Regions from separate parts of the Homo sapiens genome. Here regions 2, 3, 4, 5, 6 and 7 are each linked to region 1. Evidence: promoter capture Hi-C in 16 types of primary human blood cells and fetal thymus (Javierre and others, 2016). All regions are on one chromosome and are shown on one strand. Each heading gives the region's core, a stretch centred on a gene start or on the middle of the fragment in contact. The rest is flanking DNA. Distances are from core to core; before and after follow the strand shown. Region 1 holds the start of BUD13 (BUD13 spliceosome associated protein). Region 2 overlaps RNF214 (ring finger protein 214). Region 3 overlaps PAFAH1B2 (platelet activating factor acetylhydrolase 1b catalytic subunit 2). Region 4 holds the start of PCSK7 (proprotein convertase subtilisin/kexin type 7). Region 5 holds the start of TAGLN (transgelin). Region 6 overlaps SIK3 (SIK family kinase 3). Region 7 has its middle 17 kb from the start of PAFAH1B2.

Region 1 (3,931 bases), core at 1,343-3,842:
TGGTCATCCTTTGGTGCTTAGAAAGGAGCCAAGTTCCTATCACATCAGTTTTCACATATGCAGTTCCTTCCCTCTGCCTGATCTACTCTTTTCAATCTTTTTCTTTTTTTTTTTTTTTGAGACGGAGTCTCGCTCTGTTGCCCAGGCTGGAGTGCAGTGGCACGATCTCAGCTCACTGCAAGCTCTGCCTCCCGGGTTCACACCATTCTCCTGCCTCAGCCTCCTGAGTAGCTGGGACTACAGGCGACCACTGCCACGCCTGGCTAATTTTTTGTATTTTTAGTAGAGACGGGGTTTCACCGTGTTAGTCAGGATGGTCTCGATCTCCTGACCTCGTGATCCGCCCGCCTTGGCCTCCCAAAGTGCTGGGATTATAGGCGTGAGCCACCGCGCCCGGCCCTAGTCTTTTTCTTTTTTGAGACAGGGTCTCACACTGCTGCCCAGGCTGGAGTGCAGGGACACCATCATGGCTCCCTGCAGCCTTGACTTCCCGGGGTTAAGTTATTCTCCCTACTCAGTCTCCCAAGTAGCTGGGACTACAGGCATGTGCCACTGTGCCTGACTACTTTTTTGTATTTTTTGTAGAAACAGGGTTTCACCATGTTGCCCAGACTGGTCTCAAACTCCTAGATGCAAGCAATCCACCCGCCTTGGCCTCCCAAAGTGCTAGGAAACTCTTTCTCATTCCAGGAAACTCTTCCTCATTCTTCAGGTCCTAACACAAATTTAACTTCCTTTGGCAAACTTTTCTTGACTGCTTCACCCAATTCCCTCACCATCCCACACTCACTCAAGACTAAGAACCCTTGTTAAAAACTCTTGGAATACTTTCATTGCATTTATCATAAAGAAAATATATCGATTAGTTGTGTAATTAGTTGCTTAAAGCCTGTATTCCCATTAATCTATAAGCTCCACAAGAACAGGGACTATGTTTTTTTTGTTCACAGAGGCATCCTCAACACCCTACAGTAACTGGAATACGAAATATTCAATAAATGTTTGTTACGTGGATAAACTATATAGCTGAGCCCAAATAATAACAATGACTGCCATGATGTGAAGTTATTCAAAAAGCCAGGGTCACTTAATGCAATCCCTCTAATCACAACCACCACTTAATAAAACCATTATTATTATTATTCTCATTTTAAAGATAAGGAAACTGCAGCTCAGTGAGATGAAACACCTTGCCCAAGGGTACACAGCCTATAAAGTGGCACAGCTAGGATTCGAACTCTGACCAGTGCTGCTCCAACACTCAAGCTACTTTCATCACATGGCACTGCCTCCAAAGGATCCACACAAGTCAGCGAGGCAGAAAGACGAAGACAATAATAAGGCAAGCACCAAACCAGAAAAGAACTTGGACTAGTTCTTTAGAACAATGTGACTTCACTGGGTATCTCAGTGCCTTAGGGTTACTGTAACAAAGTACCACAAATTGCGTGGCATAAAACAACAGAAACTCTCTCGCAGTTCTGGAAGCTAGCAATCTGAAATCCAGGTGTCTGCAAGGCCATCCTCCCTGGAAAGTCTCTAGCAGAGAATCTTTCCTTGCCTCTCCCAGCTTCTGGTAGCCCCAAGCATACCTTGGCTTTTGGCAACATAAATCCAATCCAATCTCAGCCTTCATCTAGACATGGTCGTTTTTCCTTTGTTGCTGTGTCTGTATCCATACTTCCCTCTTTTTAAAAGGCAAACAGTCATCTTGGATTTGGCACCCACCTTAATCAAGTATGACCTCATCTTAACTGATTACATCTCCAAAGACCCTATTTCTAAATGTCACATTCTGTGGTTCTGGGTGGAAAACGATTTGGTAGGGCCCACTACACTGGGCCACAAAGTTGTCCCATATGAAAATAATACCCACTTCATGGTAGTGTGGTGAGGCTTAAATAAACTTATATATGTTTAAATTTCTTATAATGGTGCCTGGCAAGAAAAGTATAACTATATAAATGTTAGCTTCTCACGTTAGGACTATTACTAAGAGTAACAGGAGGTGATCAAAGGTCTCTGATTCAGAACCAAGTCCTTGGGATCTGGGAATCCCCACAGGCAGGTACCGGGCCCTAAAGATCCAAGCACAGAGGCTTTGAATCCGCTCCATTATTCTCGAGGCACAATATTCATTCTCTATGGGAGAGGACGGAAGTCTACCAAGGCGGGAAAAGAGTAATCAAAGTTACACCCCGGCTTTAACGCACTGACGCTACTGCTCAGAGGCTCGAGATGTAAGCGGGGCGGCAGAGGCAAGGCGGGGGGCCTCAAGCGATGTGAGTGGGGCCCTGAGCATGAGCAGGGGTCGGCGGAGAAGCCGAGAGACCCGCCAAGAGGGAAGGAACTGCCGGGCGGCCGAGGGCGGAGTTGGGAAGGGGTGGCTAGACGTCGCAGGCCCCGCCCCGGCCGGTACCAACTCACCCCTTGCCGCCGGCCCCGCCAGGCTTCGGCCGCTTTTTGCGACGCTTGCGACCGGACTCAGATCCCCGGTCGACGCCGGCATCTGCCCCGGACAAGTAACGCTTCAGATACTCGGCCTTGGAAAGCGGCGGAGCTGCCGCCATGGCAGCGGCGGGGGCAGAGAGACGGGTCGGCGCTGGGGACAAAATGCCTCAACGCGTAACGGACGCCAGCCACCCGACAGGGCGGGGCCACGGCCGGAAGTGGCGGAGAGTGCTAAGAATCGCGCGGCTGGCAGGTGCGGCCACCGGGACGCGCTCGCAGGCTAGCCAGGGACGTGCGCACCTTCGGGGCGCTCCACAGCCCTGGGACGACGCCACCAGGTTTCTTCTCTTCATTCACTCACCCACCCACCCACCCATCCATCCAACCGCAGCAAGCGCTGTTCTATGAGGCCACAACCTGACCCAAAGGACCCCGCCCCCATCGGCCGCCTAAACTCCAGAGCACGAGCAAGAAAGTGGAGGGCCACGGGCTGCAGCGTAGCCGAGTTTGAATACTGGTTCCATAGCTGGCTAGCTGTACGACCTCGGGCAAGTTATCACAAAACAGGGAGAATCCCGGCACCTAACTCGGAACGGTCACAGGCTGAGATGATATTACTGTGTGAAGTGCGCAGAGCGGTGTTGGGCACATGGTCATCGGAACTATGTTCGTTATTTTTATAAGTATCTTTAAGTGGGGGGAATCTGCTCCACTAGGCTTCCAGGTACCTACCGTCCAAGAAAGGAAGCCAGGAAGTGCAAACCAACATAATTACTATGAAAAACGTAGTTTCTAAGACCTGTGTAACTCTTCTAGTGTTCTATTACAAGTAGCCCCCAGTTATCTCTTGAAGGAAACTGTAAAACAATCTTGCCAATGAGAAGGACGGACCTGGATCATTTTTTAGCATAGTAAAAGAGAGAAACCAGAGAGAATGAATTCTAACACTCAAGTTTTGGGGGGAAAGAAAAGACTTTATTCTTTGCAGGGGGTTTAGAGCTTTACCTGAATTATCTCATTTAACCCTCACAATTCTCAAATCGTTTCATTATCATATTTTACAGATAAGAACTGAAGCGTGGCAAGATTAAGGAAGTTGCTCAACTTCACATAGTCAGAACATGACTCTAGGGAGTAGAGGCTAGCGAAGTGGGGTGCAAGAGGTCATCCAAATTTCTTGAAATACCAGATCTTTTTACCTCATCATATATGTTAGATTGTCAGTTTTATCGTTTTCTTCCCAGCTTTATTATTTGACAAAAAATTATATATATTCAAGGTGTACAATGTGATGACTGGATATAATTATACATTGTGTAATGATTACCAAAATCAAATTAAGTAAAACATCCTTCACTAATTTATGTAGTAGTTCGGTGGGGGGGCACTTAAGCAAATTTGTCTTAGCAAACTTCAAGTAAACAATACAGAATTATTAGCTATAGTCAACATGTTGTACATTAGATTCCCAGAACTTGTC
Region 2 (4,170 bases), core at 1,222-3,721, 480 kb after region 1:
CTGAGTATCTGGGATTACAGGCGAGTGCCATCATGCCCAGATAATTTTTTAAATTTTTTTATAGAGATGAGAATCTCACTCGTTGACCAGGCTAATCTCAAACTTCTGGCTTCAAGCGATCCACCTGCCTTGGCCTCCCAAAGTGCTGGGATTACAGGTGTGAGCTACCGTGCCCAGCCTTTTTTTAATTTTTAATTTTTATTGTTTTTTACCTTCAACAAACTCACTTTTACTCTTTACATTCTTTATGTAACTCTACTACCTTTTCCATCTGATTGAATTGCTACAGATGGTGATTGATACTAATAATTTTGGTGTTTGTGTTCTTGAAGATCCATTTTTTTTCTTTAAATGTATATGTCACGGTGTGAGAATAATGTTTTCTGCCATTCTTTCTGTTAAATGTGGGGTTCAGTTTTCCGGAAGCAGGGGGAATGTCTCTTGTAGGTATCTTTGTTCTAGCAGTGGTGTAGGTTCTGCTTAGCATTCCATCATTCATAGGAACCGGGACACATAGATTTTGGTCATTATATTATTCACCTTGGCCTGCCATAACAGAATACCACTGACTACGTGGCTTAAACAGCAGAATATTTTACAGTTCTTGGAGGCTGGAAATCCGACATAAAGATGCTGGCAGGTTTGGTTTCTGGTGAGAATCTTTTCCTGGTTTGCCGACAGCTGCCTTCTTCTGGTCTCACATGGCTTTTGTGCTATGCATGCACATTCCTGGTGTCTCTTCCTCTTATAAGGACACCAATTCTATTGGATTAGGTTCCCACTTTATGACTTCATTTAACCATAATTGCCTCCTTCAAGGCCCTGTATCCAAATACAATTACACTGGGGTTAGGGCTTCAAGATACGAGTTTTAAGGGGCACAATTCAGTCCATAACAATTGTATTTCCTGTTTATAGTGTTTTCATTCATTTGTTCAGCCAGCATTTATTGAGTATCTACTATGAGCCAGACAGTAGGGCCTGGAGAGTAAAAAGTCTTCAAAGAGATTACTGTTTATTGTGAGAGACATAGATAAACAGATGATTGCAAAATAGTGTAATGATACCATGACAGTGGTGGTATGAAAGCATCTGAAAGAGGCATATAACCCATACTGGGTAGGGGGAGTCACAGAGGGCTTCCCAGGGAATATCATTCCAGAACTGAGTCCTGAAAAATAAGGGGCAGAAGATAACCACCAAATGAAATGCATGATCCTTGGTTTGATCCTGAATTAAACAAAGTATAATTATAGGACATTTTGGAATAATTGGGAAAATTTCAATAGTGACTACGTGTTAAGTAATACTGTGTCAGTGTTATGTATTTTGGGTGTATAAACCCATGTTGTTGAAAAAAGTTTAAGAAATTAAAAAAATATTTTACATGTGATTATGACATTGTTTCATTATGTAGAAGGATGTTCTTGTTCATAAGAGATACTTGCTGAAGTTTTAGGAGTTAAGTGTCATGATGTAAATGTGGCAAAAAAAATGCAACAACTGGTAAATTTAGATGACAGGTAGACATTCATTTTATTATTTTTATTTATTTATTTATTTATTTTTTTTTTAATTTTTTTTTTTTATTGATCATTCTTGGGTGTTTCTCGCAGAGGGGGATTTGGCAGGGTCACAGGACAATAGTGGAGGGAAGGTCAGCAGATAAACAAGTGAACAAAGGTCTCTGGTTTTCCTAGGCAGAGGACCCTGCGGCCTTCCGCAGTGTTTGTGTCCCTGGGTACTTGAGATTAGGGAGTGGTGATGACTCTTAACGAGCATGCTGCCTTCAAGCATCTGTTTAACAAAGCACATCTTGCACCGCCCTTAATCCATTCAACCCTGAGTGGATACAGCACATGTTTCAGAGAGCACAGGGTTGGGGGTAAGGTCACAGATCAACAGGATCCCAAGGCAGAAGAATTTTTCTTAGTACAGAACAAAATGAAAAGTCTCCCATGTCTACCTCTTTCTACACAGACACGGCAACCATCCAATTTCTCAATCTTTTCCCCACCTTTCCCCCCTTTCTATTCCACAAAACCGCCATTGTCATCATGGCCCGTTCTCAACGAGCTGTTGGGTACACCTCCCAGACGGGGTGGTGGCCTGGCAGAGGGGCTCCTCACTTCCCAGTAGGGGCGGCCGGGCAGAGGCGCCCCGCACCTCCCGGACGGGGCGGCTGGCCGGGCGGGGGGCTGACCCCGCTGACCCCCCCACCTCCCTCCGGGACGGGGCGGCTGGCCGGGCAGAGGGGCTCCTCACTTCCCAGTAGGGGCGGCCGGGCAGAGGCGCCCCTCACCTCCCGGACGGGGCGGCTGGCCGGGCGGGGGGCTGACCCCCCCACCTCCCTCCCGGACGGGGCGGCTGGCCTGGCGGGGGGCTGACCCCCCCACCTCCCTCCCGGACGGGGCGGCTGGCCGGGCGGGGGGCTGACCCCCCCACCTCCCTCCCGGACGGGGCGGCTGGCCGGGCGGGGGGCTGACCCCCCCACCTCCCTCCCGGACGGGGCGGCTGGCCGGGTCATTTTATTATTTTATTAACTTTTTCTTGGTTTGAAATTTTCGAAGAAAAAGTAGCAGGGGTCAGGGTAGGTATAGGGAAGAATTAGCCAGGCAACAAATGAAGGAAAAGACACTGCCGGCAGGGGGCTCAGAGATGTGAGAGAAAAGCAAGCAAGACGTGAAGTGGGGGAGTGAGGCCAGATCAGAAAGGCTTTTATACTGTGTTAAGGAGTTTGGGTTTTTCCATGATAGAGATATTGAAGGATTTTAAGGGAGGAGAGTATCAAATGATACAATTTGCATTTTATTTTTATTTTATTTTACTTTTTCATTTTTTGAGACAGAGTCTCACTCTGTTGCCCAGGCAGGAGTGCAGTGGCACGATCTTGGCTCACTGCAACCTCCACTTCCTGTGTTCAAGTGATTCTCCTGCCTCAGCCTCCTGAGTAGCTGGAACTACAGGCCTGTGCCACCACGCCCGACTAATTTTTGTATTTTTAGTAGAGACGAGGTTTCACCATGTTGGCCAGGCTAGTCTTGAACACCTGACCTCAAGTGATGTGCCCGCCTTGGCCTCCCAAAGTTCTGGGATTACAGGTGTGAGCCATCCTGCCTGGCCTATGATTTGCATTTTCAGTAGATTACTTGGGCAGTTGGAAAATGGATTGGATTAGTGTATTTGACCAGTTAGGAGACTTATCTTGTCAGAGCCTAGGTTAGCATAATTATGGCTGAAACTAAAGTAGTGCCAGTGGGAATGAGAGAAGTGAACACATTTGTAAGACATTTAGGGGCAGCACTGATCAATGTGGGTAGACAGGGTTGAGTTAGGGATAACTCCCATATTTCTGGCTTGGAAAATTAGGGAAATAATGGGATTCTTTGATAAGATGTCTTATCTGTCTTATACGTTTTAACTTAAATTCTGCCTTCTTTGCAAAATTGCCTGTGCCATTTCTTTATGAACTGAATCTGAATTTTTTTTTTTTGAGACGGAGTCTTGCTTTGTCGCCCAGGCTGGAGCGCAGTGGCGTGATCTTGGTTCACTGCAGTCTCCACCTCCCGGATTCAAGCGATTCTCCTGCCTCAGCCTCCCGAGTAGCTGGGACTACATGTGCCTGCCACCACGCCCAGCTCATTTTTTGTATTTTTAGTAGAGACGGGGTTTCACTGTGTTAGCCAGGATGGTCTCGCTCTCCTGACCTCCTGTTCCGCCCGCCTTGGCCTCCCAAAGTGCTGGGATTACAGGCATGAGCCGCCTCACCTGGCCTGAAATTTTTTTTAATGTTTTATTCTTTTAGTGCCATATATCTGGTAATTATTTGATAAGTGTTTATTCTATCACTGGATTGGAAATTAAGGGAATTTCACATTAATATTAATTAAAGATGAATTTACTTAATAGAAATCTGCTAAGTGCTTTGTACTATTTGAAGGTAGTCACTATGTATTTCAATGTAATTATAATTTTTTTATTTTTAGAAACAGGATCTCACTCTGTTGGCCCAGCTAGAGTGTAGTGGTACAGTCATGGCTCACTAAAGCCTTGAACTCCTGAGCTCAAGCCATCCTCCTGCCTCAGCTTCCCAAGTAGCTGGGACTACAGGTGTGCACCACCATGCCCATCTAAGTTTTTCTGTTTTGTAGAGACTGGATCTCAGTTTGT
Region 3 (4,102 bases), core at 1,118-3,617, 380 kb after region 1:
GGCTCAAGTGATCCTCCCACTTCAGCCTCCCATATAGCTGGGACTAGTGGCACATATCAGTATGCCTGGCTTCTTCAATTATTTTAAGGTCTTTTGACCAAAACTGCAAAGGGGCAATTAAAAAAAAAACAAAACAAAACTCTAGGCTGGGCATGGTGGCTCACGCCTATAATCCCAACACTTGGGGAGGCCGAGGTGGGCGGATCACAAGGTCAGGAGTTTGAGACCAGACTGGCCAATATGGTGAAACCCGTCTCTACTAAAAATAAGTTAGCCGGTTGTGGTGGCAGGCGCCTATAGTCCCAGTTACTGAGGAGGCTGAGGCAGGAGAATCGCTTGAACCCAGGAGGCGGAGGTTGCAGTGAGCCGAGATTGTGCCACTGCACTCCAGCCTGGCAACAGAGCAAGACTGCATCTCAAAACAAACAAAAAACAAACAAAAAAACTGTAACCTTGTGACCCGTGACAGGTTGTACAAAGGGGGATTTTAATAGTCAACAAGAATTTGTTACTGTAAGTAAAAATGTAATGTTACAAATGTCCTGCCTCTTCACCATTCTGATGTTGGAACTGGGAAATATTTTAAGTTTTTTTATTTTGCAGTAATTTCAAAACTACACAAATGTTACAGAAATTTAGAAAGAAGTATCTTCATCTAGACTCACCAATTGTTAACATTTTACCGTATCTGCCTAATTATTGTGTCTGTATCTATTTTGTTTTAGTTTTTTTTTTGTTGTTGTTGTTGGTTTTTTGAGATGGAGTCTCACTCTTGCCCAGGCTGGAGTGCAGTGGTGCAATCTTGGCTCACTGCAGCCTCCACCCCCCTGCCACCCTGGGTTCAAGATATTCTTGTGTCTTAGCCTCCCAAGTAGCTGGGATTACAGGCGCCCGCCACCACGCTCAGCTAATTTTTGTATTTTTAGTAGAGACAGGGTTCTGCCATGTTGGCCAGGCTGGTTTCAAACTCCTGACCTCAAGTGATCTGCCTGTCTAGGCCTCCCAAAGTGCTGGGATTACAGGCGTGAGCCACCATGCCCTGCTGTGTCTATATCTATTTCTATATGTATATACTAACGTAGTGGGTTTTTCTGAAGCATTTGCACTCATTTCCCTTATCCCTGAATATTTCAGCATGTTTTCTTAAAAACAAGGACTTTTCTTAAATAACTATAGGATAGTTATTAAAATCATGAGATGTAATATTGATATAATACTATTATTACTTAATCCAAAGACCATATTCAGATTTCTCCAGTTGTCCCAATATTTTTTTCTTTTCTTTTTTTTTTTTTAAGACAGGGCAGTATACAGTGGCTCATGCCTGTAATCCCAGCACGTTAGGAGGCCAGGGCAGGTTGGGAAGTCAAGGCGGGAGGATCACTTGAGCCCAGGATATTAAGGCTACAATGAACTATAATTGTGCCACTGCACTCCAGCCTGGGTGACAGATTGAGACCTTATCTCAAAAAGAAAAAAAAGAAGTATACCACAGTTGATTTGCCCATTTTTTCTTTCATGGACATCTGGATCATTTATACCTTTATGAATAGTAACTAGGCCAGGAGTAGTGACTCACACCTGTAATCTCAGCACTTTGGGAAGCTGAGGCAGGTGAATCGCTTGAGCCCAGGAGTTCAAGACGAAGGAAAGGAAAAGAAAAGAAAAGTAGTAACTAAACTAGATATCTTCATTATTCTTGTCTTAAGTTAATAGGCTTCAATGAGCTCTGGCTGTAGAAAAATCAGTCAAATGGAAGAAAAACACAAATATTTTAAAAATTTTTTTGGAGACAGAATCTTGCTCTGTCAAGCATGCTGGAGTGCAGTGGCACCATTACAGCTTGCACCATTACAGCTTGCACCATTACTGCAGCCTTGGCTTCCCGGGCTTAAGTGATCCACCACCGCTTCTCAAGTAGCTGGGACCACAGGTGCATGCCACCATGCCGGGCTAATTTTTTTTATTATTTTTTGTGGAGATAGGGTCTCACTATATTGCCCAGGCTGATGATCTTGAACTCTCGGCCTCAAGTGATCCTCCTGCCTCAGCCTCCCAAAGTGTTGGGATTACAGGCATGAGCCACCGTGCCTGACTTTAAAAATCTTTTAAGCATTGCATACTGAAATATTTATACTTGGAATGATATATCCTCAGTTTGCTTCAAAATAGTCTGGGGATGGAGTGGGGCAGTAGTTGGGAGTATGACTGAAATAATGCAGGCCATAAATGATTGCTGTAGCTGGTAATTGATACATGGAGGTTTATTCTCTCTGAATGGAGATGTTATTCTCTCGGCTTTTGTATACATTTGATATTTTGCGTAATAAAAAGGTTTTGTTTTGTTTTTGTTTTTGAGATGGAGTCTCACTGTGTTACCCAGGCTGAAGTGCAGTGGTGTGATCTTGGCTCGCTGCAACTTCTACCTCCTGAATAGCTGGGATTACAGGCACCCACCTCCATGCCCGGCTAATTTTTGTGTTTTTTTAGTAGAGACGAGGTTTCCCCGTGTTGGTCAAGCCGGTCTTGAACTCCTGACCTCAGGTGATCCACGCACCTTAGCCTCCCAAAATGCTGGGATTACAGGCGTGAGCCACCACATCCCTGGCCTAAAAGGTTTTCTTAAGGGTAGTGTTGAAAGACTTGCCAAATAGAATAGAAATCGTATCAAAACATATTAACCAGAAAAATAAGGCTCAGCAGCAGACTAAGGAAAATAAACGCAGTAAATATTATAGATGAAGCATAGATACCTTATATTATCAATAAAAATATCCTAAAGGAACTAATATATAAGTATTTCAGTAGACATGATAGGAAGTGTAACTTTGTTTCCAAAAAGTGTAAATTAAAACATTAGGAAGAGAAAGAAAGAGAAACGTTAATATCTAATTCAGGTTCAAGTACAGTAAAACCAGTTCTAATATATTGCTGGAGTCCTTACAGATTAGCATATAGCCCTTTTGTTGAGAATTTGGAAATATGTCCAAAATCCATAAAAATACTGATTTATTTTGACTAAGAATTTCCAGTGTAGGAAAAATTATATATATATATATCCCTTTATCACACTTACTAGATTCACAAAAAGAGGCCACTGGCAAGTCTGTCCACAGGAAGAAGAGTGTGACCTGGGAGGCTGAGGCAAGAGGATTGCTTAAGCACAGGAGTTCAAGACCAGCCTCGGCAACATAGACCCTCATTCCCCTCACCCCCCAAAATAGCAAACAAAAATGTGTCGTTGAGTGCATTCAGTAGAGTATATTATGTGTAGTGGCTCATACCTGTAGTCCCAGCACTTTGGGAGGCTGAGGCCAGTAGATTGTTTGAGGCCAGAAGTGCAGCCTAGGAAACACACCAAGACCCTGATTCAACAAAAAATAGAAAAAAAAATTCACTGGGCATGGTGGTGTGTGCCTGTAGTCCCAGCTACTGGGGGGCCAAGGCAGGAGGATTGCTTGAGTCTGGGAGTTTGAGACTGTAGTAAGCTGTGATCATGCACTGCACTCCACCCTCGGTGACGGAGCAAGACCCTGTCTCTAGAAAAGAATATATGGCCATTAAAAGTTATGATTATAAAAACTGCATTGCTACATAGAAAAATGGTTCTAGTATGATGTTAAGTGCAACTATAACGGCTACCATTTATCAAGTACCTAGTGGGTGCCAGTCAATAGCTGGGACTCTTTAACAACTCTAAAATGGAGTTGCCAGCAGATGTTAAAACCAAGACACAAATTATGTACTTTCTTAAGATCACTGGACTGGAAAGTAGGTAAGCTAGAATTTGAATGTTGGTTTTTCTGGCCCCAGACATATAGTGCCAGAAAGAGGTGTCCATGATGCTTAAACTATGTAAAAGGGGTAACAGAGGACATGAAAAAAGATGAGGAGAAAACACTCAAGCATGGTCATAGTTACTAGGTTAAGGTGGTAGGATTATAGATGTGTTGTTTTGGTCCTTTCTATTTTTCCAAATTTATTACAACTATTACACTTTAGGAGAAAAGTACTAGAACCTTTAGCATAGCAGTCTTAAATTCCACGACTCTACAAATGCAAGCTATTTTATTGGTGTTGAAAGGTAGTTGGGGCCGGGCAC
Region 4 (4,101 bases), core at 925-3,424, 460 kb after region 1:
GTAACTGCAGGAATCTGAGAGGGAGATGCTGAGCCATCCATGTGTTCCCCCTGGAAGTCCCTAAGCCATGCCTTTTAAATTGTGAAACATTTGATCTTCTCTTTTTGTTCACATTTATCCCTGACCAACAGGGATAAGCCCCCAGGTGGAGTGTGGGCCAGCACTAACACCAGCGGATGGCCTCCCACAGCAAGACAGCCAATCCTCACGACACCAGCTAATCCAGCAGGAGGTCCAGTTGCTCACAGGCACTGCGAGCAACCCCTGTTGCCACCCACAGGGCTCAAAGCACACATCGCTTCCACAAACTACTGGCTGCATCGTGACTGTTCTTTAGCAGAGACAACCCCTTCACCCCTACATTTAGAGGGGACATAAATCTTTCCCTAGCTGACTCCTCAGTCCAGTTGTCCTCAAGGCTAATTCCCCATAACAGGGCCCCGTGCCCACCTGGATTCTACATGAGGTTGAGCTCCTGGTCTGGCTAACCACGTCACACTCATGTTGTGCAAATGGAGAAAAGGCATCACTTTCACTGTGAGTAGTGTTGACTCAGCAAAGGCTACAGACCTGTGGGATCCAAGAACAGAAGAAATAATGTCCCACCAATCCCAGGGCAACAAGCTGAGGTTAGATAAACTCCAGGACCAGGGACCAAAGAAACTTCATTAATTGTCATTTCCAAAGATCTAAAATCGGTCATAGACTGGAGCAGAACTGGTACGGTGAGGCCAAATCAGTATAACACCCAAAAAACCCACTTCCTGTGCTATCGTGCCACCCTCTTTTCATTTTGTTCCCCAGAGGCCTAGCAAAAAACAGTTACCAAAATGCCTCTTGAAAGAGTAGGTAATAACGTCCTAGAAGTCCAGGTGGTAGCTAACTTCTTGATTTGTATATCCCAGAAGGATACCAGGGAAAGTGAAAGGAGGGAGGCGGCGGGGGCGAAACGGGGAAAGCCAGAGAGTGCAAACAAAACAGAACAGGCACCAAGGACAAGCGGGCAACCAGGAGAGAACGAATGATGAGAGAACCTCACTAAGCAGCTACTCCTGTACTGAGCTCAGGAGGCTGGCTTCAAGGTGAGGACTCAGACTCCAGACTGGGACTCCAATTGCCTGGGTTTGACAGAACCAGGGAATTGGTCTCAGGAGCCCTCAAAAAAAAAAAAAAAGAGCCAAGTTAGAACTGGGGGACAGACAAATGGGGTGGCAGGACATGTGTGTACCTATGGTGGCTGGGCTCCTTTAAAAGCCTTTGCTCTCCACTGGGTCCACCCTGGGGCAGGGCTTAGTACTCAGATACACACCCAAGCGGCTCTACCTCAAAGCATTCCAGAAAAATGGGAATTTTACTGAAAGGCTTCCTGGAAAGGAGAACTTATGCCACCTCTCCTTTACCTCTAAAAATCTTCATACTACATTTCTTCCTCTCGTTTTCTCTTAGGTTTCCAGGCATATTCCCTCTCAATCCCTCCCTGCCCCCGGGAGCCTCAATTCTCCCAAGATATTTAGGTGTCTTCCCCAGTCTGCATACTCTACTAAGTAAACAAACTAACAAACAAAACCCTTGTTAGCCAGACAGTGGCCCCGCTAGGCAGACTCCTTCAGACTCAGTAGATCCCACCACAGATGTCAGGAAGAAAGAGAAGCAGGAGCTCCTTCTGTCTACTAGTGGCAAAGCAGCATTTTTATCCCCCAGGCTTCTGGGAAAGGAACCTTAAATGCCTTCTGAAAGCAGGTCTCAACCTCTCCCAACGGCTAGGCCTCCCTTTACAGCTCTTAATTGACAAGGAAGAAGAGAATGGGCAGCCTGGAGTCCAAGATCCTGCTCCCAAGCTACTGTCCTCGCTGTTCCACACCCGGCTCCTAGAAGCCAGCTTGGGTACCGGGTCAGTTTCCCGATTCTCCCTCCGTCGGCCTCGATCGCTCCGTGCAATGTGCCCCTCTCCTCATTAGCACCCACATTATCCAGGAATTCTGGGCCCTGGGGCCCCATCTCCTTGGTCCCCCACGCCAGGACCTCAGGCACCCTCTGTGCAGCTCCCTCATCCTCAGACGCCGGCTTCCCCCACTTCTGGGGCCCCCTGACCACCCAGGTCCAGCCCCACACCTAGTTCCCAACTCACCGGCCCCGCCGCAGCTGCCGCCGCCTCCCTGCGGAAACTCGCGGCTTCCCGGGAGCCGGAGGAGCAGTGACAGCAGCATCACTTCCGCCCGCGGCGCAGCCAATCAGCGCGGCGCCTGCGGCCCGGCGACCCCCGCGGGCCACAGCAACCGGCGCCCGGGGTCCGGCTCCCGCGGGCGGCCTACGCAGGCAGGGGCCGTGCGGGCGCTGGGGGCTGAACCCGCGGGCTCCGCCTCCCCGAGTCCTCGGGGCATCTTCCACATGGTCCCTCTTCAGAAGGCTCTCCTTCATGGCGTCCTCTGTAAAGGGCATTTCGGTTCCGACCTTTAAAAGCCACTCGTTGCTCTTCTCCTTCTGACCGCCATGGCCCCGACTGTCCCTGTAATCTTCCCAGAGGGGATCCTGCCCACCCAGGTCGCCTTCCTTCTCGCAGTCGGCTCTCCCTTCTTCCCCGCGCCCCGGGAGAGTCCACTTGTATCTCAGGGGTCTCCCGCAGCATCCCCGTGCCCCGGCGGCGCCAGCTGTCGCCGCCAGAGGGCGCCGTCGGGGGCGGCGCGGCGCCACCGCGGCCTCTCCTCTCGCGGCCGGAGCCTCGCCCCCTCCGCTCGTGCCGCCGGAAGTGGGAGGTGCCGCGCGCGGGCCGGCGCTCGACCCCTCCCCCCGTGGCTCGGCCGCCCCCTCCCCCCGCTCCGCCCGCTCAGGTGCGTCCCGTCCCTCCCCCACTTTCCTCCCGGGGGCGCGGCGCGGGAGGTGTGTGCGGGGCGAGCGTGGGTGGGGGTTGCGGGGCGAGGGCCGGGCATGGGGGTCGGGTGGGGGGCGTGGAGGGTGCTGTGAGAACCGAGGCGGGGGTCCCGGCCTAGAAGTGGGACGGGGGGGTGGCTGGCAGCGGGGTGGGGGGACCGAGGGGAAGGGGTGGAGGGGGGTCTGGTCCGAGCCAGCGGCCAGCCTAGCAGTCCCCTGTGGGGGGTGGCCAAGGCCACCCAGCGCCGCTTCCCCCCATTGTCCCCTTCCCGTCTGTCCCCTGTTCTCGCCCGAGGACCCGTGGCTCCGGCGCCCCTGCTTCGCTGGTGGTCGCCCCGGGTTGCGGAGTTCTTTTTGGTACACTCGACCCTCCAGCCAGCTGTTCCTACCCGCGCCACGGGCTCTCTAGCCACGGAGTTGCATGCATGGCCCTTGTCCTGGGGTTTCGTTCACCGGGCGCAGAGGACCCCCCAGCCCTGGGCTATGTTGGAGACGGGATGTTTGCACCTGAGGGAGCAGCAATGGCGGTTTGGGCCCATTTTCTCCCAGGAGCTTTGTATAATGAGGGAAACTGAGGCACAGAGGGTCTGTGGGCTGTGACTGAGGTGTTGACACAGCCCCATCTACCTATCTGCCCTATGCGCTCTTCAGTGTTCCGGGGGGGAATACGTGTGATGCTGTTAAAATAAAAGCAAGAATGCAAACTAACCCGATGTTCATCCCCACCTCCCAAGTATTTTGATTTTCTTTTCTCCTCATAAGGTCATAAGTTTGCTCTGCGGCATAAAAGATGACCTTTTGATTTTTAAAAAAGGCGTCCGTCCCAGTTCCCTTACTTGTGTTACCATGTTTTTTACCTTGACTTTTTCACGCTAGAGAACCCAGGATTCTTTTTTGCACCACTAGTCACTCTGAAGAGTCTGTTCTTTGCTCAGTTAGTGGGTATCAGGCCTTTCCCATCTGTGGGGAGCACGCTGACAGTAAAATATGCACCCTGGATTGCCCAGTATTGCATTACTTGTTGACTTACAGGCAGACACCTCCAAAAACTTCCCTTAAATTAATGGAGAATGCTTTGAATGTAACAGCCATAAAGTGATTTAAAAACATGAGATCTGATTGATACTAGGCCGAAAAGTACGTCTTTTATTAAAAATGATAGCAGACAAGGTAGGCCTGGGACCACTTGGAAGATCCTGGCAGACTAAGATGTATTGTTTGAAATGACTACAT
Region 5 (3,977 bases), core at 1,465-3,964, 430 kb after region 1:
GCCTGCAAGGGGCCTGGGGCAGTGCGTATTCTCTTCCCTCTGACCTGTGCTCAGGGCTGGCTCTTTAGCAATGCGCTCAGCCCAATTTGAGAACCGCCTTCTGATTCAAGAGGCTGAATTCAGAGGTCACCTCTTCATCCCATCAGCTCCCAGACTGATGCCAGCACCAGGACTGGAGGGAGAAGCGCCTCACCCCTTCCCTTCCTTCTTTCCAGGCCCTTAGTCTTGCCAAACCCCAGCTGGTGGCCTTTCAGTGCCATTGACACTGCCCAAGAATGTCCAGGGGCAAAGGAGGGATGATACAGAGTTCAGCCCGTTCTGCCTCCACAGCTGTGGGCACCCCAGTGCCTACCTTAGAAAGGGGCTTCAGGAAGGGATGTGCTGTTTCCCTCTACGTGCCCAGTCCTAGCCTCGCTCTAGGACCCAGGGCTGGCTTCTAAGTTTCCGTCCAGTCTTCAGGCAAGTTCTGTGTTAGTCATGCACACACATACCTATGAAACCTTGGAGTTTACAAAGAATTGCCCCAGCTCTGGGCACCCTGGCCACCCTGGTCCTTGGATCCCCTTCGTCCCACCTGGTCCACCCCAGATGCTGAGGATGGGGGAGCTCAGGCGGGGCCTCTGCTTTGGGGATGGGAATGTGTTTTTCTCCCAAACTTGTTTTTATAGCTCTGCTTGAAGGGCTGGGAGATGAGGTGGGTCTGGATCTTTTCTCAGAGCGTCTCCATGCTATGGTTGCATTTCCGTTTTCTATGAATGAATTTGCATTCAATAAACAACCAGACTCAGTTCTTGGGGCCCTTGTTTGCACTCCCTCTGGGTGGAGCTGTTGAGGATGAGGGGAGAGGCGGAGGTCTTCCATTTCCCCATTCTTCAAGCCATGGCCCTACTGGGAACTGCAATTCCTTGATTCTCCCGTTTTTCCTGTCCCTCCAGCAACAGCATTAATTCAGTAAACATTTACCGGGGCACTGTGCTGGACAGAGGCCAGTTCCTGGAAAAGCCTTTCCCACGCCATCCCACTGCAGACATCCCTCCTTACCTCCCCAGGAACAGCAGTCTCTGCCCACCTGGCCCCGCCCACCAGACTGAGGCTCACTTCACCTCTGACCTGAGCGGCCCCCAGCTCACCAAGCCACAGGCCCAAGCAGTGCTCCCTGATGCGGCGTTTATAATCCGCTCAGCGTGCAGGCCGAGGCAGGAGGGTGATGAAAGCTGGGCAGGCTCCAAGAGGAGGGAGTTTTGATATGTCCCTGAAAGATTCATTTAGACTTCAGTCGGCTAAGGAGGACATGATTTGGGGGCCAAGGAATCTGTTGAATTCAGAACACAACCAGAGGTCTGCAGGGTCAGGGATGGAGGAGTGGGCTTTCCCCTCGCCAGGGCCCACTCCTCTTCCTGCTTTTCCTGCAGGCGCCACTGGGAGGTGCTATGGCTGTGCCTCCCCTGGGCTCTGGAGCATGTCCAGTTGCAGTGGGCAGAACTGCGGAGGCGGGCCCCTCCTCTGCCAGGCCTGGCAGCCCCCTCCTAGGGCCTTGTTTGGCTAGGGGTGGTGCCGGGTGTGGCAGTGTGTGTGTAGTGGAGAGTGTTAGGTCTTCCCTACCAGATGCCCTTGCAGGGGAGTGCCACAGCAGTCAGTCCAGGGATCCCACTGTTAGTCTCACCTTTTTTAACCTCTTATCTCTCCCCAAGATCCCTGAAGCCAGGTACGAGCAAGATGAGAGTGGGTTATCTCTGGAGTGACAGAGGCTGGTCTGTTTTCCAGGCTGGTAGGGACTGTTCCTAAAGGGAGGAAGGGATGATACCAGCCTCCTGAGCCTCCTTCTCCTGCGTTAGTGTCTCAGGCCCTGCCAGGCCTTATAGACCCTCTTATTGACACTGCCCACTGGATGGGGACCGGAGTTGGACTCAGCTTCTGCCGAACCCTCAAATCCCAGCCCCAACTAAAGCATATAACTCAAGACCTACCTGCACTGAAAGCTCTTCTCAACCTGAGCAGGGTGGTCCAATTGAAAGGGTGGGTCTGACCACCTCTCCTGCACCCATGCGGGTTGGCAGAGGTGTGCAGGATCTGCCACTTACCATTCACCATGTGGCCTTGAGGAAGACGCACTCGGGGCCTCAGTTTCCTCATCTATAAAATGGGGATGTAATTACACCCTCACACTGTAGCTGTGAGTATTCAATGAGAGCACTGCAAAGGGCCTGGTGTGGAGTAGGTCCTCAGGAAAGGTTGGATCCCATGTCCCATCAGAGCTAAAAGCCCCAGGAGGAGAGGGTGGCTGGTTTGTCCCCACAAACCCCTGGGATTCCCGGCTCCCCAGCCCCTTGCCCCTCTCTCCAGCCAGACTCTATTGAACTCCCCCTCTTCTCAAACTCGGGGCCAGAGAACAGTGAAGTAGGAGCAGCCGTAAGTCCGGGCAGGGTCCTGTCCATAAAAGGCTTTTCCCGGGCCGGCTCCCCGCCGGCAGCGTGCCCCGCCCCGGCCCGCTCCATCTCCAAAGCATGCAGAGAATGTCTCGGCAGCCCCGGTAGACTGCTCCAACTTGGTGTCTTTCCCCAAATATGGAGCCTGTGTGGAGTCACTGGGGGAGCCGGGGGTGGGGAGCGGAGCCGGCTTCCTCTAGCAGGGAGGGGGCCGAGGAGCGAGCCAGTGGGGGAGGCTGACATCACCACGGCGGCAGCCCTTTAAACCCCTCACCCAGCCAGCGCCCCATCCTGTCTGTCCGAACCCAGACACAAGTCTTCACTCCTTCCTGCGAGCCCTGAGGAAGCCTTGTGAGTGCATTGGCTGGGGCTTGGAGGGAAGTTGGGCTGGAGCTGGACAGGAGCAGTGGGTGCATTTCAGGCAGGCTCTCCTGAGGTCCCAGGCGCCAGCTCCAGCTCCCTGGCTAGGGAAACCCACCCTCTCAGTCAGCATGGGGGCCCAAGCTCCAGGCAGGGTGGGCTGGATCACTAGCGTCCTGGATCTCTCTCAGACTGGGCAGCCCCGGGCTCATTGAAATGCCCCGGATGACTTGGCTAGTGCAGAGGAATTGATGGAAACCACCGGGGTGAGAGGGAGGCTCCCCATCTCAGCCAGCCACATCCACAAGGTGTGTGTAAGGGTGCAGGCGCCGGCCGGTTAGGCCAAGGCTCTACTGTCTGTTGCCCCTCCAGGAGAACTTCCAAGGAGGTGAGGAGTGTGTGAACGCACCTGTGTTGGAGCACGGTGTCCCACTCTGGCGGGTCCCCAGGGCCTGAGCAGCAGCGATAGCCCTGTGACAATGTGAAGGGCCACAGAACTCTTGTATTCCAGTCAGGGGCAAAGAGTGGAGACGGAAGGCCTGTCCTTCTGACAAGCAGCCCCTTCCACTGTCTGACAGTGGGAGGTCACCCCCACTGTAGCAGAGGGGTGGGGGGCGGGTACTGCCAAGGAGGAGCTTTGGAGTGATAGGCGGGGCAGGCCTGGGACCCTTGGTCTTTCCCAAAGGGTGGTTCCCTTTCGAAGTTGCTATTCCAAAGGTAGCAGTGAGGATGGCACACATTTATGTAGCCAGGCCACTCCTGTTTGTCCGTGGAGTGGAGAGGAGCCACCCTCCTGCCCTCTCAGAGGTCCAGGTGTGCTCACTCCTATTTGGGAAGAGAGAAGGGGCACAGCAGCCCTGCAGGGGCCCCTGGCTCTGCTCGTGTTTCTGGGCTTCTGCTGGTAGGGGGTGCCACCTTCCCGTTTGACCCTGGACTTTCTTTCTCCACTGCCCACTTTCACCCACTGGGCAGCTCAGGGGAGGGGTCCTGGCAGGAGCCACAGGGCAGGAGGGTCCATGCCTGTCCATGCTGTCCTGGGAGTGTCTTGAGATGCCCCTGGGGGGGCCGCCCTGTAATCATCCTCCTCTCCCCCTCCCCACTGGCTCGAAGGCAGGACTCGGGAGGCTTCATCAGAGGACTCTAAAGGATTTCTGGGGATTCTCCACTTTTCGACCCTGACCCAGGAGGAGG
Region 6 (3,944 bases), core at 357-2,856, 320 kb after region 1:
ACAAAAAATTTTCATTCAATAAATGTGTTGAATGAATAAATGATTAAGGGAAAGGTTCCATCTCTATGCAGATGTCTTAGGTGTTGTTTTACAGTTACAGTGGCTCTGGTGAGTAGAAAGCATTTCTTTTTCTTTTCAAAGCATCCATTTTGTTCTCTTTTACGCGATGAACTAGAAAACATTAGCCAGACTGAAGCCTGAAAAATGAAAACAGCACTTCTGGCACAGAAATAACTAGTCTGGGCACCTCTGGCTTGAGCGAGATCTATGACTTTCTAGGGAGCTGGCACCAAAGTCAAAATGTTAAAATAAACATCTTTGATGTAGAAAATGGAATACTGGTATTTTGACTCTGGAGAGACTAGTCTCAATCAGTCTTAGCTCTTTACAAAATTTCAAAAACGTTTAGCAACCCCATCACCACTGTATCAAACTGAACATAATCATCTTTCAATAGTCACTTCTAGATTGTCTAGGGATGGGGCTATCTTCCTCAAATGTATCTAATGTAAATTCTGCTTTCAATTTCTTTTTGACATAATTCTCTCCTACTTACCAAATGAATCTTGTTTTCAGTTTTCTAATGGGTGAAAGCATCATCTCATGTGCTTCGTTAAACTCTTCTTTAGAGGTGAAAATAATGCTTTTAGCCCACTTTGACTTGTTCTCCTCATGGAAATGAGTTTGCACTAAACCACACCGATGTGTCTGGCTAGTCAATATTTGGAAAGGGGTCATAGGGCAAAATGTCTTCTCTGTGTAATATTTAAAGTTAAGAATTCTGACCTTGGCCGTCTAAGGCCTTTGCTTGTGCACGCAAGGGCAAATGTGTCCTTAAGCTTGCAGAAACATTTCTTAAATATTTCACTTAAACCTAATTTAAGTGGACCTCTGGAGAAAAGACTGCACTCAACTCTGTTCCATCATCAACATAACAAAAATTAGTTACACAAAACACACTGAAAATTCAAGGCAGCCCAAAGCAAAAGCCAGTGTTGGTCACAGTTTTCATTAGATAAGTCACATTGCTATTTAAAAAAAAAAAAAAAAGTTTAACTAATGAAAATTTATGTTTTAAAATGCTGATTTCATGAGATTAGCCAGCCTGTACCCTATACAAATTAAATCCAACTATCTCAAAGTGGCACCTGCAATAGTAGCAAACTTTTTTTTTACCAGGAAAGTCTATCGTCAGGATGGCATCTACCTACACAAAACTAATGGCATATACATTCATGAATCGTGCCCAAGGGGTGAGAAGCAAAAAAAGGAGGACTATTATTATGTCCATAATATTATTATGTTACTAAAACATCTGATAACGATGATGATGATGGTAATATTTACGTCATGCTATTAGGGCACCATGCTGCTCTAAGAGCTTTACATACACTATCTTCTTTAATCTTCATAACACCTAAACTTGTGAGGTAAGTACTACTGTCATCCCACTTTACAGATGAGGAAACCCAAGCACACAGAAGTTAAATAACTTCTCACAGCCTAAAAATATCCAACTATTAAGCAGCAAAAGATTCAAACTCAGGTTGCTTTATCCAAAGCTGGAACTCTTACCACAAACCAATAACAGGCAAGTGATATATATTTGTTGAAATATAGTTTAAACGTATTTGGCCAAAGGCTTTTATAGTCATGCATACTTTAAAAAATGCATATGGGCCAAGCATTTGGGTTACAGACTCATGCCTGTAATCCCAGCACTTTGGGAGGCTGAAGCAGGAGGATCACTTGAGTCCAGAAGTTCAAGACCAGCCTGGGCAACATAATGAGACCCCCATCTCTACAAAAAAAATTTAAAAATTAACCTGGTGTGGTGGTATAAGCCTGTAGTCCCAGCTACTTAGGAAGCTGAGGCAGGAGGATCTCTTGAGCCTGGGAGTTGGAGGTTACAGTGAACTCTGGCAGTGTCACTGCACTCTAGCCTGGGTGACAGAGTAAGACCCTGCCCCAATATTTTAAAAAAGGAAAAAAAATGCATACAAAATCTATCTACTCTTTGTTCCCAATCATCCAACTAGTGAAGGTATAATTAGGCACAGGCAACAGACTACCTGCAATTTGAGAGCAGAAAACATTCTTTTTTAAAAATATCTGTAATACTTTATAGTTTCCTACCAAAAAAAAAAACAGAGCCAGAGAACCTCAGGCTAAGTAAGGCTCTTCCAAAGAAAAGGAAATCAAAGCAGGTAGGACAAAGACAGCCAGGGTGAGCTACTAACCAAAGTATGTCACAGCTGAACATTCTCTCCTGGTAACTGTTCTGCAGTGCCGCTCTAAGCACTGCAGTGCTGCCAATATGAAGTCTGAGCTCATGAATGCCGTGCTGCAAAAGTAACCAACAACCAAATAGGAAAAGCTTCACTTTTCTCTACTGATTTTATTCATCCCAGGATCCCACTCTAGACGGTTTGAGAGTTAACAGAATTTGGGAAAGGGCCAGCTTAACCACGCAGTATTGGATGGAGTGCAGTATCCTACTCAATAAATGAGGTTTACTTTAGTCTCTTAGTTCTTGGAATGGGTCATGTGTGTTTAAAAAAAAAAAAAAAAAAAAAAAGGAGGGGGATCATAATTATTTCTAATGTTCAGAAAATACCTATTACCTAACCTCCTTCAGCCAACACAAGTATCATCTGAATTACCTCTGTCTGACTGTTATATATGGTTATAAGAAAACCCAGACCATTTCCTACAAGGGGAAAAAAAAATCACACACCTCTAAAAGACAAAACAACAAATGACACATTCTGGAGACAGATGGGGGAAAAAAATAACTCTCTGTTTCCAAATGACCCCTCTGCAGAAGTAAGATAAAGGCTGCAGTGCATGGGGAGAAAAAAAATCAACCTGAGTTAACTGAAGCAGCAGCTTCGGCAACTTCTAGTACCTATGCACCTTCACCATTGTTATATAACCAAACCATAACCTTAATAGGCCATCGTACTGTATGTCGACAGCTGTTAGGCACATCTAAGCTGTCCGCATTTGAGAACCCCTTCCAAAGTGGATTCAGAGAAGCATGGAGCAGGCCAAAATATGCTCCTAGTTCACCCAGAGCACGTGACAACTCCTTGTGAATTAAGCTTCACTCATGTAGTCAGAGTAATTTAAGCAGCAAAAGATATAGCACTTGTAACTGTAACTAGGAAATTGCACACTGCTACAGAAACACAAATGAATGCTGGTGTGGCTCCTTCACACATGCAACTCATTGTCCAAGCCATTTCAGTCTCATTCAAGACTTTGAATATTTCCATACATAGGAATTGCACAACTGCATACCACAAATGATCAAAGATAAAAACCAACATAAACAGTGACACCCGTTTGTAAACAAGCCAGTGTTTAAAATGCTGCAGTCCTAAAGGATACCAAGGTCTCAGAGAAAAACTATGAAAAACACACGCACGCACATATACACACACATGAAAATTAGAAAGCGGGCAGACCAGCCATAATTAGGCACTGGCTTTGCTGACTACTGAAGATAGAAATGTCTCTTTTATATTAAAGCCAAGAATCAACTGTTTGCAATTACATTTACGAAAACATTCAACCCTGTCTGTAACAGATTTTATCAATATTTTGGTGTATCCAAGGGCTGGAAGATTCAAAATTCTTTAAATCATGAAACCATAAACCAGGCAACCAATTAAGTTCATGGAGACTATCCCCCAGAGGTCAGAGCAAAATAACCACAGGAGCACAAAGTGATTACACAGAAAATAGGCAGAAAAAAAGGAAAGAAATAGCAAAACAAGGAACAAGGCATATTGTTTGTAAATGTAAGTTTGCCTTGGCTAATAGTCAACTAGACTGGAAACACGGTGAGGGGCTGGGGTGGCAAGTGAGGAGCACACCAAAGTCTTGGCTCAATCGACTTCCCCTGACTTCCCCTCAGGGTCTGAGGGAGCCCTGGACTT
Region 7 (3,732 bases), core at 1,233-3,732, 350 kb after region 1:
GATTCAAGGCTCAGCTCCGCAACCAAGTGGTTGGTGACCTTGGACAGCTTGAATGATCTCATCTGCAAGGTGAAGATAATAATAACCTAACTAATAAAGTTGTTATAAAAACTAAATGAGACAATACTTACAAAAGTACTTTTTAAATTATAAAGGGTTACTTAGGTTTGTTTTGCTTCACGGTAGGATAGTTCTGGGGCTACACTAATGTTACAGATATAAAAGAAGTGGAAAACATGGCCTCGGATCTCAAGTGTCTTATGATCCTATAGGATAAATAAAGTTTACAAACATGAAAAACCTTTAAGATAGCACATGGCTGCACAGGGTTGGATCAGAGCTCTCATCTTGTCTGTTGAAGATGACTCAGGTATGGCTAGGTGTGTCTGGCTAGCTGGTGGGATGGGTCTAAGGAAGTTTATTGGCAGGAAGGCTGGGCACTTCATTTGAGAGTCTTCCTTCTAGAGAAATAAGGAGCCAAGCATGATAGCCTTTTTCAAGAGCCAGTGCCTTGGTCATCAGAATGAGGTGTGGTCATTGTTACTCAAACGCAACTCTAGTTCGACCCCTTAGCTGAAAATCCAGGGCACGTGGAAAAGACAAGTCTCGTCTAGACATTGAAAGAGCTGTTTCTTGGATCAGGTGCTGTGGCTCACGCCTGTAATCCCAGCACTTTGGGAGGCCAAGGCAGGCGGATCTCTTGATATCAGTAGTTCAAGACCAGCCTGGCCAACACGGTGAAACATCATCTCTACTAAAAATACAAAAATTAGCTGGGCATGGTGGCATGCGCCTGTAGTCCCAGCTACTTGGGACGCTGAGGCACGAGAATCACTTGAACCCGGGAGGTGGAGGTTGCAGTGAGCAGAGATCACGCCACTGCACTCCAGCCTGGGCAACAGATTGAGACGCTGTCTCAAAACAAAAACAGAAAGAGCTGTTTCTCTGTCTCTGTAACACACTAGGGCTCAAATAACATGTTTTGGGACCTCTCTCTGAGTGTATATCCAAAAGAGCAAGGGAAATTATTTTATGCTACAGCCCAGGTACTCCTTTAATACCCAGAAGGCTCTCAATGGAGCAGTTGAAAAGACTCAGAGTGCCCACAAGAGGGAACAGAGTCATGGCAGTGCCAGCCTACAGAGTTGTCAGTATCCAGCAAGGACAACAGCACAATAACCGAATACAGCAGTGTGCATTGTCCCCATCAGAGCTGTGACAATCCCCAGCAGAAACTGCCACGCCAGCTAGTATGGTGGGAGGCGGTGTTAACAGCTCAGAGCATCCACAGCTCTTGATAGAGCACTGTGGATATTTTGGGACTGAAGGATGTTGGATATCCCATGGACTTGATAGGAACATTGAGGAAGGAGGCTCCTATTAGAAGATGGACCCTAAAAAGCCAGCAAATATTCATGTAAGACAGAGTTATTTCAGATAACAAAAATATCAGCAGACTGAAATCACTGACGTCACAGAGGAAGTGGTAACTGGACCATGGAGTTGATTTCTTGTTGCTTTCTGTGATGGTTAATTTTATGTGTCACCTTGATTGGGCTAAGGGATGTCCAGATAGCTGGTAAAATGTGACTTCTGGGTGTGTCTGTGAGGGTGTTTACAGATGAGATTAGCAATGGAATCAGTAGACCGAACAAAGAAAATCCATCTTCACCAATGTGGGCAGGCATCATCCAACCGGTCGAGGGGGCAAATAGAACCAAAAAAGCAGAGGAAGGGCAAATTTGCTCTCTCTGCTTGAGCAAGGACATTCATCTTCTCCTGCCCTCAGACATCAATGCTCCTGGTTCTCAGACCTTCAGGCCTAGAGTGGAGCTACATCATTGTCTTTCCTAGGCCTCCAACTTGCAGATAGCAGATGGTCGATTTCTCAGCCTTCATAATCTTATGAGCCAATGCCTCACAATAAAATTCTTTCTATATATCTACATATATCCTATTGGTTCTGTTTTTCTGGAGAACCCTAATACGTTTGCCATGTGTGTCTGAATGTCGAAAGGTGCTTCTTATTCCACAGATCTCAGAGAACATTCAACTATGAATTCTGTAATACCCAGAAGTGCCAATGGAGCTTGAAAAGAGTCTTTTTAACACCAGCGTGCCAGGCTACGAGCTGGGCAGCAATTCTTCCTGGCAAGTAGTTCTTGCAATTTGCCTATACCCAGAGCAGATGCTGCTTCTGCTTTTCCCAAAGAAAGCTTTCTCTATATTCTGCCTTTCCCCAGAGACACAGTGGAGACAGAATCCTTAACTCTTCCCCTGGTGAACAGGCTGTTCAGAGTCTCCTATGCCACACAGGAAAAGTCAGAAACGGGTGGTAGCTGGGGATGCAAGAGAACTAGTTTATCCATAGCCTTTTCTCACTGAAGATTACCTGCAAAGATGGTTTCCAAAGTTGCTTAGGGAATCTGCAGCAGTAAATCTCAAGTGGTCTGGTGGTTGCCATTGGCAACACTCTAGCTTCCCTGAAAACAAGGGACAGGTGTGCTTTTTGCCTCTTTAATATATTGGGGATGAAGGTAGGGGGTAGGGAGAAAGACTGACTGTTCCTTATTCTGAATTCATTTTAAAGATGACTACTCAATGAACTGTAAACGGAATGTCCCTTAATATTTCCTAAGGTGTAAAGCATTTCACGCTCCTGTTTTGAGAGAGAAACATCATCAGCAATCTAGCTAAGTGATAAATAAATCAAATGAAATTTAACGAAGGCAAAAGTTGCCAGGTCTATAAGCTTGCTCCATGAATGTAAGCAAAGAGAGTTGGTATAAATCAGTTCTTAATTTTTTTTTTTTTTTTTTTTTTTGAGACGGAGTCTCGCTCTGTAGCCAGGCTGGAGTGCAGTGGCATGATCTCGGCTCACTGCAACCTCCGCCTCCTGGGTTTAAGCGATTCTCCTGCCTCAGCCTCTAGAGTAGATGGGATTACAGGCATGCGCTGCCACGCTCAGCTAATTTTTGTATTTTTAACAGAGACAGGGTTTCACCTTCTTGTCCAGGATGGTCTCGATCTCCTGACCTTGTGATCCGCCTACCTTGGCCTCCCAAGGTGCTGAGATTACAGGCATGAGCCACCGTGCCTGGCCCAGTTCTTAATCTTTAGTGGCCATAGTCATCATCTGGAGACATTGCCTGAGGCATTCTAATTCAATACGCCTGAGTTGAGGCATGGGCAACAGCAGCCTTATTTACTCTTCTTTCCACTACTATCAAGAGTCTGCAAGCAACTTATTCAACCTCACCTTTAGAGCCTATGTCACCCTGACTGAAATGATTGAAAGAAAGCTTGGAAATTCATAAAAAGAAGGAGCCTGAAGATGTGACTGTCCCCTGGAATGCCAGTCCTTTCACTGATAAACTCCTTTCCTATTCCCAACGTGTCATTCCCATCCACCACTTCTAAGATTGGGGGAAGATTTGACTATAGCTAGAGCAAGAGTGAAAAAGCAGCATCGGCCAGGTGTGGTGGCTCACACCCCCAGTACTTTGGGAGGCTGAGGTGGGTGGATCACCTGAGTCAGGAGTTCAAGACCAGCCTGGCCAACATGGCGAAACCCCATCTCTACCAAAAATACAAAAATTAGCCAGGCATGGCAGCGGGTGCCTGCAATCCCAGCTGCTTGGGAGGCTGAGGCAGGAGAATCACTTGAACCTGGGAGGCAGAGGTTGCAGTGAGCCAAGATAGTACCAATACACTCCAGCCTGGGTAACAAGA

The links. Contacts are between HindIII fragments. The CHiCAGO score rates a contact against its expected background, and 5 or more counts as called.
Region 2: a contact is called between a fragment that was not itself captured here and the fragment with the promoter of BUD13 in region 1, in 11 of 17 cell types (naive CD8 T cells, total CD4 T cells, activated CD4 T cells and 8 more). The highest score is 9.9, in naive CD8 T cells.
Region 3: a fragment that was not itself captured here is called in contact with the fragment with the promoter of BUD13 in region 1 in 16 of 17 cell types (neutrophils, naive CD8 T cells, activated CD4 T cells and 13 more); the score reaches 16.8 in neutrophils.
Region 4: the fragment with the promoter of PCSK7 here is called in contact with the fragment with the promoter of BUD13 in region 1 in 13 of 17 cell types (naive CD4 T cells, naive B cells, neutrophils and 10 more); the score reaches 16.1 in naive CD4 T cells.
Region 5: a contact is called between the fragment with the promoter of TAGLN here and the fragment with the promoter of BUD13 in region 1, in 14 of 17 cell types (naive B cells, erythroblasts, total B cells and 11 more). The highest score is 15.1, in naive B cells.
Region 6: a fragment that was not itself captured here is called in contact with the fragment with the promoter of BUD13 in region 1 in 13 of 17 cell types (non-activated CD4 T cells, naive CD8 T cells, fetal thymus and 10 more); the score reaches 15.8 in non-activated CD4 T cells.
Region 7: a fragment that was not itself captured here is called in contact with the fragment with the promoter of BUD13 in region 1 in 17 of 17 cell types (total B cells, total CD8 T cells, naive CD8 T cells and 14 more); the score reaches 18.7 in total B cells.

The regions. Positions count from the first base shown.
Region 1 is chr11:116,770,395-116,774,325 of GRCh38, forward strand. BUD13 (BUD13 spliceosome associated protein) reads right to left here and starts at 2,593. Exons shown (of 10, transcript NM_032725.4): 1 at 2,428-2,593. The coding sequence starts at 2,570. It overlaps ZPR1 (ZPR1 zinc finger), which reads right to left. Exons shown (of 14, transcript NM_003904.5): 14 at 3,405-3,931. BUD13-DT (BUD13 divergent transcript) reads left to right here and starts at 3,077. Exons shown (of 2, transcript NR_186226.1): 1 at 3,077-3,117; 2 at 3,516-3,811. RefSeq lists a silencer at 2,732-2,931 and an enhancer at 3,052-3,141. The HindIII fragment of the contact is 6,866 bases long and covers 1-3,931 here.
Region 2 is chr11:117,249,046-117,253,215 of GRCh38, forward strand. All of the region lies in intron 6 of RNF214 (ring finger protein 214), which reads left to right. Among named protein-coding and RNA genes, the nearest start is that of RNF214, 18 kb to the left of the region's middle. The HindIII fragment of the contact is 9,181 bases long and covers 1-4,170 here.
Region 3 is chr11:117,152,647-117,156,748 of GRCh38, forward strand. All of the region lies in intron 2 of PAFAH1B2 (platelet activating factor acetylhydrolase 1b catalytic subunit 2), which reads left to right. Among named protein-coding and RNA genes, the nearest start is that of PAFAH1B2, 10 kb to the left of the region's middle. The HindIII fragment of the contact is 8,620 bases long and covers 1-4,102 here.
Region 4 is chr11:117,229,899-117,233,999 of GRCh38, forward strand. PCSK7 (proprotein convertase subtilisin/kexin type 7) reads right to left here and starts at 2,175. Exons shown (of 17, transcript NM_004716.4): 1 at 2,129-2,175; 2 at 451-570. RNF214 (ring finger protein 214) reads left to right here and starts at 2,773. Exons shown (of 15, transcript NM_207343.4): 1 at 2,773-2,828. RefSeq lists enhancers at 864-1,103, 1,973-2,022 and silencers at 2,213-2,362, 2,573-2,912. The HindIII fragment of the contact is 17,537 bases long and covers 1-4,101 here.
Region 5 is chr11:117,196,656-117,200,632 of GRCh38, forward strand. It overlaps TAGLN (transgelin), which reads left to right and starts at 2,715. Exons shown (of 5, transcript NM_003186.5): 1 at 2,715-2,777. LOC100652768 (a long non-coding RNA gene) reads right to left here. Exons shown (of 8, transcript NR_045215.1): 2 at 3,196-3,257; 3 at 2,082-2,133; 4 at 1,664-1,781; 5 at 1,131-1,252; 6 at 575-749; 7 at 353-491. It overlaps SIDT2 (SID1 transmembrane family member 2), which reads left to right. Exons shown (of 26, transcript NM_001040455.2): 26 at 1-787. RefSeq lists an enhancer at 1,272-1,935 and a silencer at 1,338-1,632. The HindIII fragment of the contact is 9,715 bases long and covers 1-3,977 here.
Region 6 is chr11:117,092,638-117,096,581 of GRCh38, forward strand. The region is part of intron 1 of SIK3 (SIK family kinase 3); the gene reads right to left. Among named protein-coding and RNA genes, the nearest start is that of SIK3, 3.8 kb to the right of the region's middle. The HindIII fragment of the contact is 1,538 bases long and covers 838-2,375 here.
Region 7 is chr11:117,125,260-117,128,991 of GRCh38, forward strand. It overlaps the pseudogene LOC101060089. Among named protein-coding and RNA genes, the nearest start is that of PAFAH1B2, 17 kb to the right of the region's middle. The HindIII fragment of the contact is 536 bases long and covers 2,215-2,750 here.